Regions from separate parts of the Homo sapiens genome. Here region 1 is linked to region 2. Evidence: promoter capture Hi-C in human tissues and cell types (Jung and others, 2019). All regions are on one chromosome and are shown on one strand. Each heading gives the region's core, a stretch centred on a gene start or on the middle of the fragment in contact. The rest is flanking DNA. Distances are from core to core; before and after follow the strand shown.

Region 1 (4,866 bases), core at 1,069-3,568, 140 kb before region 2:
GCAAACCTATACTTGTCAATTAGAAATGGCTACATCTAACTAAGTTGCCTTGACACTTTTTAATCAAACCACAGTTTCAACTCGGTGTTCTGGAATGATTTTAAAACCCACATGGAAAGCATTTGAGAGTGGTTTCCTTTGTGGTCTTAGTACAATAATTTCCCATATCATTTTTCCAATAATCCCTTTGACCTTTGACTATATTTCAAGGTGTGTTCTTTTGGAGAGGACAATTATTCCTTTTACTCTCCTATGTTAGTGGTAATACCTTGAGGCTAAGAGAAGCCATATGGAGAACACTGTGCTTGGGTAATTGAATTCAGAATGAGTATGATTGTTCATCATTTGGTAAAACCCAGGTTACTTGTGATAGGAAAGAGGTGCCATAATATACACACCTTGAAATAATTGAAGTATTTTACCTTGTTGATTTGATGACTAAATGCTCCCATTTTTGTAAATAATCTTATAACTGTTGATTTATTTTGTATGAATAATTTTATTCTAAAATTGTATAGGAAAGTTTCCCATTTTAATCAGTAAATTAGGCCAATGGTTCTCAAACTATAGAGAGCAAAAGAATCACAGTACTGGGCCCCATCCTCATAATTTGTGATTCAGTAGGTCTGGAATGGGGCCGAGAATGTGTATTTCTAACAGGTTCCCAGGCAATGCTGTTAGTCCAGGGAACACACTGAAAACCATTGAATTAGGCAAATGATGTAATATATGTGGTGCCATGAGGGTTTGATAATATAGTTAAGTCTTAAACTTGAGATATAAACCTTTACACTTTCAAAGAAAAATAATCATTCCCCTGGAGAAGTTACGCCTCAAAAAAATTGTTTTTCAGCCATCATGTATTTTTGACCAGGTGTTAATTTCCACTTTAGTGAGAATGTGTTTCATAATCATGTTACATCTTTTTTCTCATAGCTGGAATTATTTCTCTTCTGGATGAAGATGAACCACAGCTTAAGGTATGAATTGAAGAATAAGTAACTAGGCTTAGTGTGAATACTGTGAAGCCTTTTGAATTTAGTGATATCTGTAATCTTCCATCATTTAAAGTTGCTGTCCTAGCTGGCTTGTACCCAGTTACTGTAACCTAGCCAGAGAGGACAGTATTTTGGCCACAGCAGTTGGTTTCCCTTGAGTTTAACAAAGCTAAGACAAATAAACCTCGTTACGACACTTGAATAGCCCCCTAATTTCTTTCTTTTTTTTCTTTTTTTAATCTTTTTTCTTTTTTGAGACAGAGTCTCGCTTTATCACCCAGGCTAGAGTGCAGTGTGTGGTCATGGTTCACTGCAGCCTTGACCTCCTACACTCAAATGATCCTCCCACCTCAGCCTCCCAAGTAGCTAGGACTGTAGGCATGCACCACCACACTCAGCTAATTTTTAAATTTTTTGTTGTGATGGGGTCTCACTGTGTTGTCCAGGTTGATCTCAAACTCCTGCTCCTGGGCTCAAGTGATCCCCCCGCCTTGACCTCCCAAAGTACTGGGATTACGGGTCTGAGCCACCACACCTTCCGCTTCCCCCGCCCCAGTTTCATTATCAACAGAAAACACAAAAAGTTGTTGCTTCTGTTTCACATATTTAAAGTTTTTTATTTGATGAAAATTTGGAATGTCCTTCTGGTGGCTCTAGATACTTGATTCCTTTACATCTAAACCAGCAACCTGGAGTTAATTGTTTATATTCAAAGAAGAAAAATGTTGATGATTGAAAACAGAAAAGAAATGTGTAAACTCAAGAAAAAGTGTAAGTTGGTAAATTTTTATATTTGTCATAGAGTAAAAGTTTGAGTAAATATTACTGAGGATTTGATCATTGATTTGCTGAAAAGAATTTTTTAAGGAAGTGTAATGATAAGTCTATCTCAAAATAGGATTTTGGTTATCTTTTACAGGAATTTGCACTACACAAATTGAATGCAGTTGTTAATGACTTCTGGGCAGAAATTTCCGAGTCCGTAGACAAAATGTAAGAAATTATTTTTATAAATCAGAATAAGATGGATCAAATTTAATTGTGAATGTGGGTCTTGTGGCTTATTGATTCATTTAGAAATTTGCTGTTAACTGAATTGTGGCTTGAATATTTAGATTTGGGATTTTTAGGGAAAACCACAGTTTGAACTAGACCTGTACTTCCTAATTTCTTTCAGAGAGGTTTTATACGAAGATGAAGGTTTCCGGAGTCGGCAGTTTGCAGCCTTAGTGGCATCTAAAGTATTTTATCACCTGGGGGCTTTTGAGGAGTCTCTGAATTATGCTCTTGGAGCAGGGGACCTCTTCAATGTCAATGATAACTCTGAATATGTGGAAACTATTATAGGTAATTATCGTCTATCTGGTAAGGCTTTATCTTGTCGGCTTCTTTCTTGCTGTAGTGCACATAGAAGCTTTTTTCCTGAATTTGATGTTGCCAAATTTCATTTTAATTGGAAGTTCCTAATCTTTCTATAATAATTTTATGCAGGCTGAGTTTTTAGATCTGCCCTTCAACTGAGTGCTGGTTCTCAGTGGTTATGATGATCACCAGTCCAGTGAGCCTACTGTTAGAGGAAAAGATTAAATCAGATTAGTATGAGTAACAAGTGGTACCAGTTTGTGTAGTTTTTTCGAATACAGGAAACCATTATTTAGTATCTGCATTGTGCTAGGCACCGTGCTAGTCACTCTGCATACCATGGTTTATTCCACAGCTACCCCATGAGGAAGGAGCTAGCCGTTTTACAGATGAGACAACTTGGATTTTGAGATGATAAAGACATGGTTATTAAATAGAAGGATAAAATTTAAAACCTGGTTTTACTCACTCTAAAACCCATACTGTTTCTATTTGTAACCGTTGTTTTCTTACTTGTTTCCTTATTTTTGAAGGAAGGGGATAACACACAGGCAAGGCTTTGAATTTTCTGACACATATTTCAACCAGAGTTGTAAATTCAACTAGTTATGTAAGATTTGATACAAAGATTTTATAGTGTAAAAAAATGCTTGAAAACTGTTGATGTAGTAAATGAAAGAAGGGACTGCATACCCTTCAGACATGTGTTTATCAGACTTTGGATTCATAGTACAGAGAGCTCAAGGGCATGTTCTGTCAGGAGTGTGCAGTGCAGATATTTCACATTGCTGATTAGTAGAAGGTCTGTATTATTCACTTGAACACTTACAAGGAGGAAGTTGGTATTCTCTTTTAGAAATTGGGAAGTCCTGCACAAGGGGGTTGATAGAGGTACCATCAACTGTCCTTGGGATTCTGTGTTCATGTTTTTAAAGTTTTTGCTATGATGATGTGAAAATTTTGCAAGTTACTTTATTGCTGTTGGAGGCTCATTGAATTGAGCTGTCATCTGTGAATCCAGTGGGAAGAACTGATGGCTTAAAAGGATGGACCGTATTATTTGAAACTAGACTACTTTCTTCACTTTAAGCTAGAAGCAGGGGGTGAAATACCTTACTTATCTCTTTTATTTGATGGATTTTTTTTTTTTTGAAAACAGGGCAGGATCTCACTGTGTTGACCAGGGTGGTCTCAAACTCCTGGCCTCAAGCAGTTCTCCTGCTTTGGCCTCCCAAAGTGTTGGAATTAACAGGCGTGAGCCACCACAGCCAGCCTTTTTTTTTTCTTTAATGAAGGTTTATGGTTTTTTACAACAGTGATCTACAAATGCTTAAAATGCCACCATTGTACAAATTGTGCTTTTAAACTGGACTGTTGGTATGAAGTGCTATGGCATGGTAGATGCCTTCTAAACACTGTATCATTTTACCTTTGGAAGGTGAGTTTTGATCAGTAGACCAGTTCTGTTTGCATTTATTTATTTAAAAGTGGGGTTCACCCTTCCTCTAGTTTTGTAGGGCACATTTTTTAAGATGTCAGTGAGATTCATGAGGGGGTATACAAAACAGAATTTGGGTAAGGCTTCCTAGCGTCTTAATGAATATCGTAAACAGTACCTCCAGAAAATCCAGGACTCATAAATCTCCAAGTTATGACAAGGCTTTAGCAGGAAATGAGGCTGAGTTTTAGTTATAACATAAACCTGGGATATATTTATGACATATATGCAAACCTGGTGAATGAGAACATGAATCTCATTTGAAACCTGGGACATACATTTTTCCCCTTCAGTTATATAATCTAAGGAAAATTCCCCAAATGTTCTAATTTTGAGGTTCCTCTCTGATGGGGTAGGGGTAATGTTTCCTCACTTAGCTACAGTTGGTTCAAAAAGCTCACATTAGGGCCTGGTGGACATTTTCAACAACTGGAATTCTTTAAGGTCTATTTTGCATTATAACATCCACTGTGTTTTTTTGTTTGTCTGTTTGTTTTTTGGCAGTTTTTCTCTGTTGCCCGGGCTGGAGTGCAATGGCACGATCTTGGCTCGCTGCAACCTCCACCTCCCTGGTTCAAGTGATTCTCGTGCCTCAGCCTCCCAAGTAGCTGGGATGACAGGTGCACACTACCACACCTGGCTAATTTTTGTGTTGTAGAAATGGGGTTTTGCCATGTTGGCCAGGCTGGTCTTAAACTCCTGGCCTCAAGTGATCCACTTGCCTCGGCTTCCCAAGATTTTGGGATTACAGATGTGAGCCACTGACCCAACCCACTATGTTCTTATTAACTGTACCTGAACCTTCATGGTTCCAGCTGAATCTTGAATGTAGTATATTCCAATTTATAAAAGTCCTCTGCTTCCTTCAAGATATAGACCCATTTAACCCGGGTCATCTAGTAGGCCAACAATCATTTATGCTAGTTAAAATTATTTTTATTTCTTGGGGCTATGGTTTGTAACTAATAAATCTTGCCCTCGTCTTCTTACTTATCTTTGAAAGGGAAA
Region 2 (4,873 bases), core at 903-3,402:
TGTTACCAGAAGGGAGAGGGGAGGTAGACAGACAAAGACAATAGCCACCACAATGACCATAATCCCGGCAGTCAGGCAAATGCACTCAGGAGGGAAAGCAAAGCAGGTGGGGTGTTCACGGCAGCTCAGAGCCCAGGGTCCAGAGACACGGAGACCTGGGTTTAGTCCTGGTCTCCTCAGTGGTGTAAACTTTGAGGAGTTTCTTAATCCCGTATGCCTCATGTTGTTCATCTTGCCAAAGACAAAACAGACAGCTCTAATCTCAGCTAATCAACCATGAGACAAAGAATGAGAAGCTGAAAAGTCTGTCCTTGGCCTTGCCGGCAGACTCAGGCAGAAGGGAAAAGGTCTGCATTTGTCCTTGTCACAGGTAAACAAGGGGGTCATCCGTGCATCATATGGGAGGCATGAGAAAGACAGGACTGTGGGTCTGATGAAGTCATATGTGGAAGGGTAGTTCTTTCTGATAAGCTACTTCCCAGAACACAAAAGTGTGGAGGATTTTAGAAAACAAAAGGTTTGGGGGTGCGTGGGTGAGATTTCTTAACTGTGGCTGTTTTCTAAGAGCACACAGCTCAGGTTAATTACAACATTGTCAATCAGTAAAATGCTGAAAATATTATTCATCTCATAGATGTGGTGTGAGAATTAAAAACTTTTTTTTTTTTGAGACAGAGTCTCACTCTGTTGCCCAGGCTGGAGTACAGTGGCGTGATCTCGGCTCACTGAAACCTCCATCTTCCGGGTTCAAGGATTCTCCTGCCTCAGCTTCCCGAGTGGCTGGGACTACAGGCACATGCCAATACGCCCAGCTAATTTTTGTATTTTTAGTAGAGACAGGTTTCACCATGTTGGCCAGGCTGGTCTGAAACTTGTGACCTTAGGTGATCCATCTGCCTTGGCCTCCCAAGTGCTGGGATTACAGGTGTGAGCCACCGTGCCGGGCCTGGTGTGAGAACTAAAGAAAACAATCTATATGATTCACTTAGCACAATGCTGGGCACACATATAGGCTGCACGTTTTGCAAACAAAAATACAGAACAATATAACATCCTACATGCACAATAAAATGAAGCAGTTTTTGGGATTTACTTACACTAAAACATTATCTAAAATTTACATTTAACTGTGTGTTCTATATTTTGTCTGGCATCTCCCGGCATACAGTTGTGTTGACGATAAATATTATGGCCATGGATTGAAGATTTATTTTCAATCCATATTACCTGGACAGAAGATAGGGCTCTCTTCTACTAAATACAGCTTTTTTTCTTTTGGAAGACAATCCACTGGCAGGGTTGGGGACTGGGGAAGTGGTGGCCACAGCCCATCTTAGGGCTTCTTCAAAGGCGAGCTGACCTACCTTCTCCGTGCCCCATTCCCTGTCTCTGGCCCTGGTAGCCTCCTCCTTCTTGGAAGCATGGAGGTGGAAACACTGAGGTGGCAACGAGAGACTCCCACGGAATCTCAACGCCTGGAGGGGAGGGATTTTCTATCCATGGCCATCTCTTCACCCTCCAGCACAAAGTTGGGTGACTAGCAAGTGCTCATTCAGTGCTGATGAACTTCAGTTCAAAAGCATCAGGTGCAAAGAGAGGGAAGACGTGTGCTCCTGATTTATTTTTAATAGCCCACATTTGACATGGAAAACAAAAAGTTTCTCTGAAATCCTTGGAAACCGCTGCAGTGGGGCGGGACCCTGGTCCCCGGAGCTTTAATGCACATCTTGGGCGTCACTTTTGGTTCTAAGGTGGCCCCAGGTCCCTCCTTTAAGATGGGAATAACCATGCCTGACTCTTTCCCCACGGACACCACACTGTCCTAGTTTGTGTTCTCTACGCGACCACGAGCTCCTTGAGACAAGGGGTTGAGCCTGCTCCGGCTCATCCCGAGAGCCGGCGCAGCGACTGGCGCAACGAAAGGGAAATGAACGAATGAATGAACGAACGAAAGTGGAGTGGTGGAGAGGACCACAGAAGACGCGGTCATCCAGCGCGTGAACCTTCACCACTGCTGGGCTGTGGACCCTCACTTCCGCCGCCAGGAAGTTTCGGGGTCGCCCACCTTCCCTCCCAGGCTGCTCCGCGTCGGCGGCGCCCCGCGCGATTGGCTGCGCCGCCCCCACGTGACGCCGGGGTGGCGGCGGCGGTTGCCCGGGTGACGGCTGCGGAGGTGGCGGCCGGGCTGGGATAGCGCGAGTGTCCGCGGCCGAGCAGCAGGTAAGCGCGTCCCCGGATGCAGCCGGGCCACCCTCCGCCCGCCGTCCTGGTGCTGGGAGGAGCAGCGGTGCGTTTGGAGGGCCGAGGCTCTGCGGACCTCTTGTTCCGAGGAAAAACCCGACGCGCCCGCTCCGCCGCCGCCGGATGCTACCACTTCTCGCCTGCGGTCCAGGGATCTTTCTTCGGCAAGGGCCGAGGCGGCCGCCTGGACATCCCAAGAAAGGACAGGCCCAGCTGCTTCCCGCAAGTAGTCCCTGATCTTTGCTGCAGTGGGCCATACTTGGAGGGGGTCCCTCAAGCCATCCAGCTGGTGGTGGCGGCGCGAGCGGGTTATCCGGGATTTAGATCCCCCTGATAATCTCCATCTGCTAGCCGCGTTCCTGAGGCACCCAGTTGAAGTCCAGACTTCACCTAATCTTAGGAAAAACAGGATGCGTGCTATGCAGATTCGGCTTCCATACAAATCCCATAATCCCACCCGTTTGTGGGCCCTAAATCTTTCTTATATAGGAATTCAAAAGCTGCCGCTGCAATCCCCAAATGTAACTGGAAAAGTTTTTCTTAGTTTCCGCATAAAGGAGAGCACTGGTTCTCAAACTTGAGAGTGTGTAAAAGTCACTCAGGGAGCTTGTTTAAAAGGCAGATTTCTGGGCATGGTGCCTGCCACGGTGTTCAGTAAGACCAGGGTGGAGGCAGGAATTTTCATTTGCACAAGCGTGCCAGCTGATTCTGATTTAGGTGGTCCAGACTTTGGGAAATACTGTGTAGTGGTTCTTTTCAGCCGCTTAGTCACTTACTGTGGCTGTTGGGAGTGTGTCAGACTTCCTGGGCCTCAAATTGCCTCATCTGGAATGGGAAAATATAAACTATATTCACCTGTCAGGTTTACTATGAAGGTTAAATGTAAAACATTTTGCACATTGCCTGGCATACCATATACCTTCAATAAATGATACCTATTATGATATAAAAGTTTAGAGAAAATTCTGTAATTTCTTTTTCTTTTCCTTTTTTTGAGACGGAGTCTTTCCCTGTCGCTCAGGCTGGAGTGGAGTGGCATGATCTCGGCTCACTGCAACCTCCACCTCCTGGGTTCAAGCGATTCTCTTGCCTCAGCCTCCCTGGTAGCTGGGATTACAGGTGCAGACGCCACCACGCCCGGCTAATTTTTGTATTTTTAGTAGAGATGGGGTTCCACCATGTTGATCAGGCTGGTCTCGAACTCCTGACCTCAGGTGATCCGCCTGCCTCAGCCTCCCAAAGTGTTGGGATTACAGGTGTGAGCCACTGTGCCTGGCCAATTCTGTAATTTCTAAGAATGTTGAGTAATAGGATACCCAGCAGCACTCACATTCAATGACAGTTGATCACAGCAGATACTATTTAAACGGCTTAGGGAGGTCTACTCTAAGGAGGTGATGTTTATTAGGCACAGTGGTTAACCAGGTGAAGAGAGGGAAGAGTGTTCTAGGCGGAGAGAGTAATATGCGCAAAGGCCTTGAGGTTGGCCTCAAGGTTTCAAATTCTCAGAAACTCACTTTTCCCGTTCCAGGGCCTTTAAAATGACATCCCCTCAGCTCCGGCTTCATTTATTCATTATATGCCTTGAGTACCTTTCTTGCTTACTAGACACTCTGTTAGGTTCTGGGGATATGAAGTTGAAATACAGCTCCCTGTCTTTGTGAACAGGGTTATAAGAAGTGCCAGGTGCAGTGGCTCATGCCTGTAATCCCTGCACTTTGGGTGGGTGAATCGCTTGAGGTCAGGAGTTCAAGACCAGCCTGGCCAACCTGGTGAAACCCTGTCTCTACTAAAAATACAAAAATTAGCTGGGCGTTGGTGGCGGACGCCTGTAATCCCATATACTTGGGAGGCTGAGGCAGGAGAATCACTTGAACCTGGGAGGCAGAGGTTGCAGTGAGCCAGATTGCACCTTTGCACTCCAGCCTGGGCGGCAAAAGTGAAACTCCATCTCAAAACAACAAAATTAGCTGGGCGTCATGGCGCATGCCTATAACCCCAGCTACTTGGGAGGCTGAGGTGGGAGAATCACTTGAACCCAGGAGGTGGAGGTTGCAGTGAGCCGAGATCCCGCCACTGCACTCCAGCCTGGGCAACAGAGCTAAACTCCATCTCAGAAAAAGAAAAAAAAAAAAAAGCCTTGGTAGGGAAAGAAGGGAGGGGTTTTTCATGGAAGACTTCTTGAAAAGAGATTAAATCTGGCTTGGCTTAGAATCATGAGTCATGTTTGCCTGGGGGGGCAGAGCATACATCAACCACAGGCTTAGGATCCTGGAAGAGCTTGTTGCATGGGGGAATGGCCAGGAGTTCGCTGTTGGCAGGGTCCAGTGTGGGATTGGTGGAAGGGAGCAAGGAGAGGGATCAGGTAGGGGGAGGTGGATGGATTGGAGGCATGGTCCAGAAAAAGGCTGGAGAGGTGGGTGTCCCCCAGGAGCAGCTGCCTTTCTTCTCTCCCCTTTTGCATCTGGCAGGGCTGGTGTGGTGCATGGGGAGGTGTCCTCCCTGCTCCTCATTACTGCTTCCAGATCACTACCCACTCCTTCACAAACCCCAGCTCCTTTGAAGCACATGGCAGATGCCATACCCCTTGCCAGCCCTCCCTGAGGTAGCCACTTCCCAGGGCAAGTCTCTC

The links. Contacts are between HindIII fragments. The study calls those that stand out against the background at their distance.
Region 1: a contact is called between a fragment that was not itself captured here and the fragment with the promoter of ARMC9 in region 2, in 1 of the 25 tissues and cell types used here (IMR-90 fibroblasts).

The regions. Positions count from the first base shown.
Region 1 is chr2:231,060,331-231,065,196 of GRCh38, forward strand. It overlaps PSMD1 (proteasome 26S subunit, non-ATPase 1), which reads left to right. Exons shown (of 25, transcript NM_002807.4): 2 at 937-980; 3 at 1,918-1,991; 4 at 2,176-2,345. Among named protein-coding and RNA genes, the nearest start is that of PSMD1, 5.9 kb to the left of the region's middle. The HindIII fragment of the contact is 6,709 bases long and covers 1-4,866 here.
Region 2 is chr2:231,196,479-231,201,351 of GRCh38, forward strand. It overlaps ARMC9 (armadillo repeat containing 9), which reads left to right and starts at 2,153. Exons shown (of 25, transcript NM_001352754.2): 1 at 2,153-2,220. RefSeq lists a silencer at 1,959-2,298. The HindIII fragment of the contact is 14,859 bases long and covers 1-4,873 here.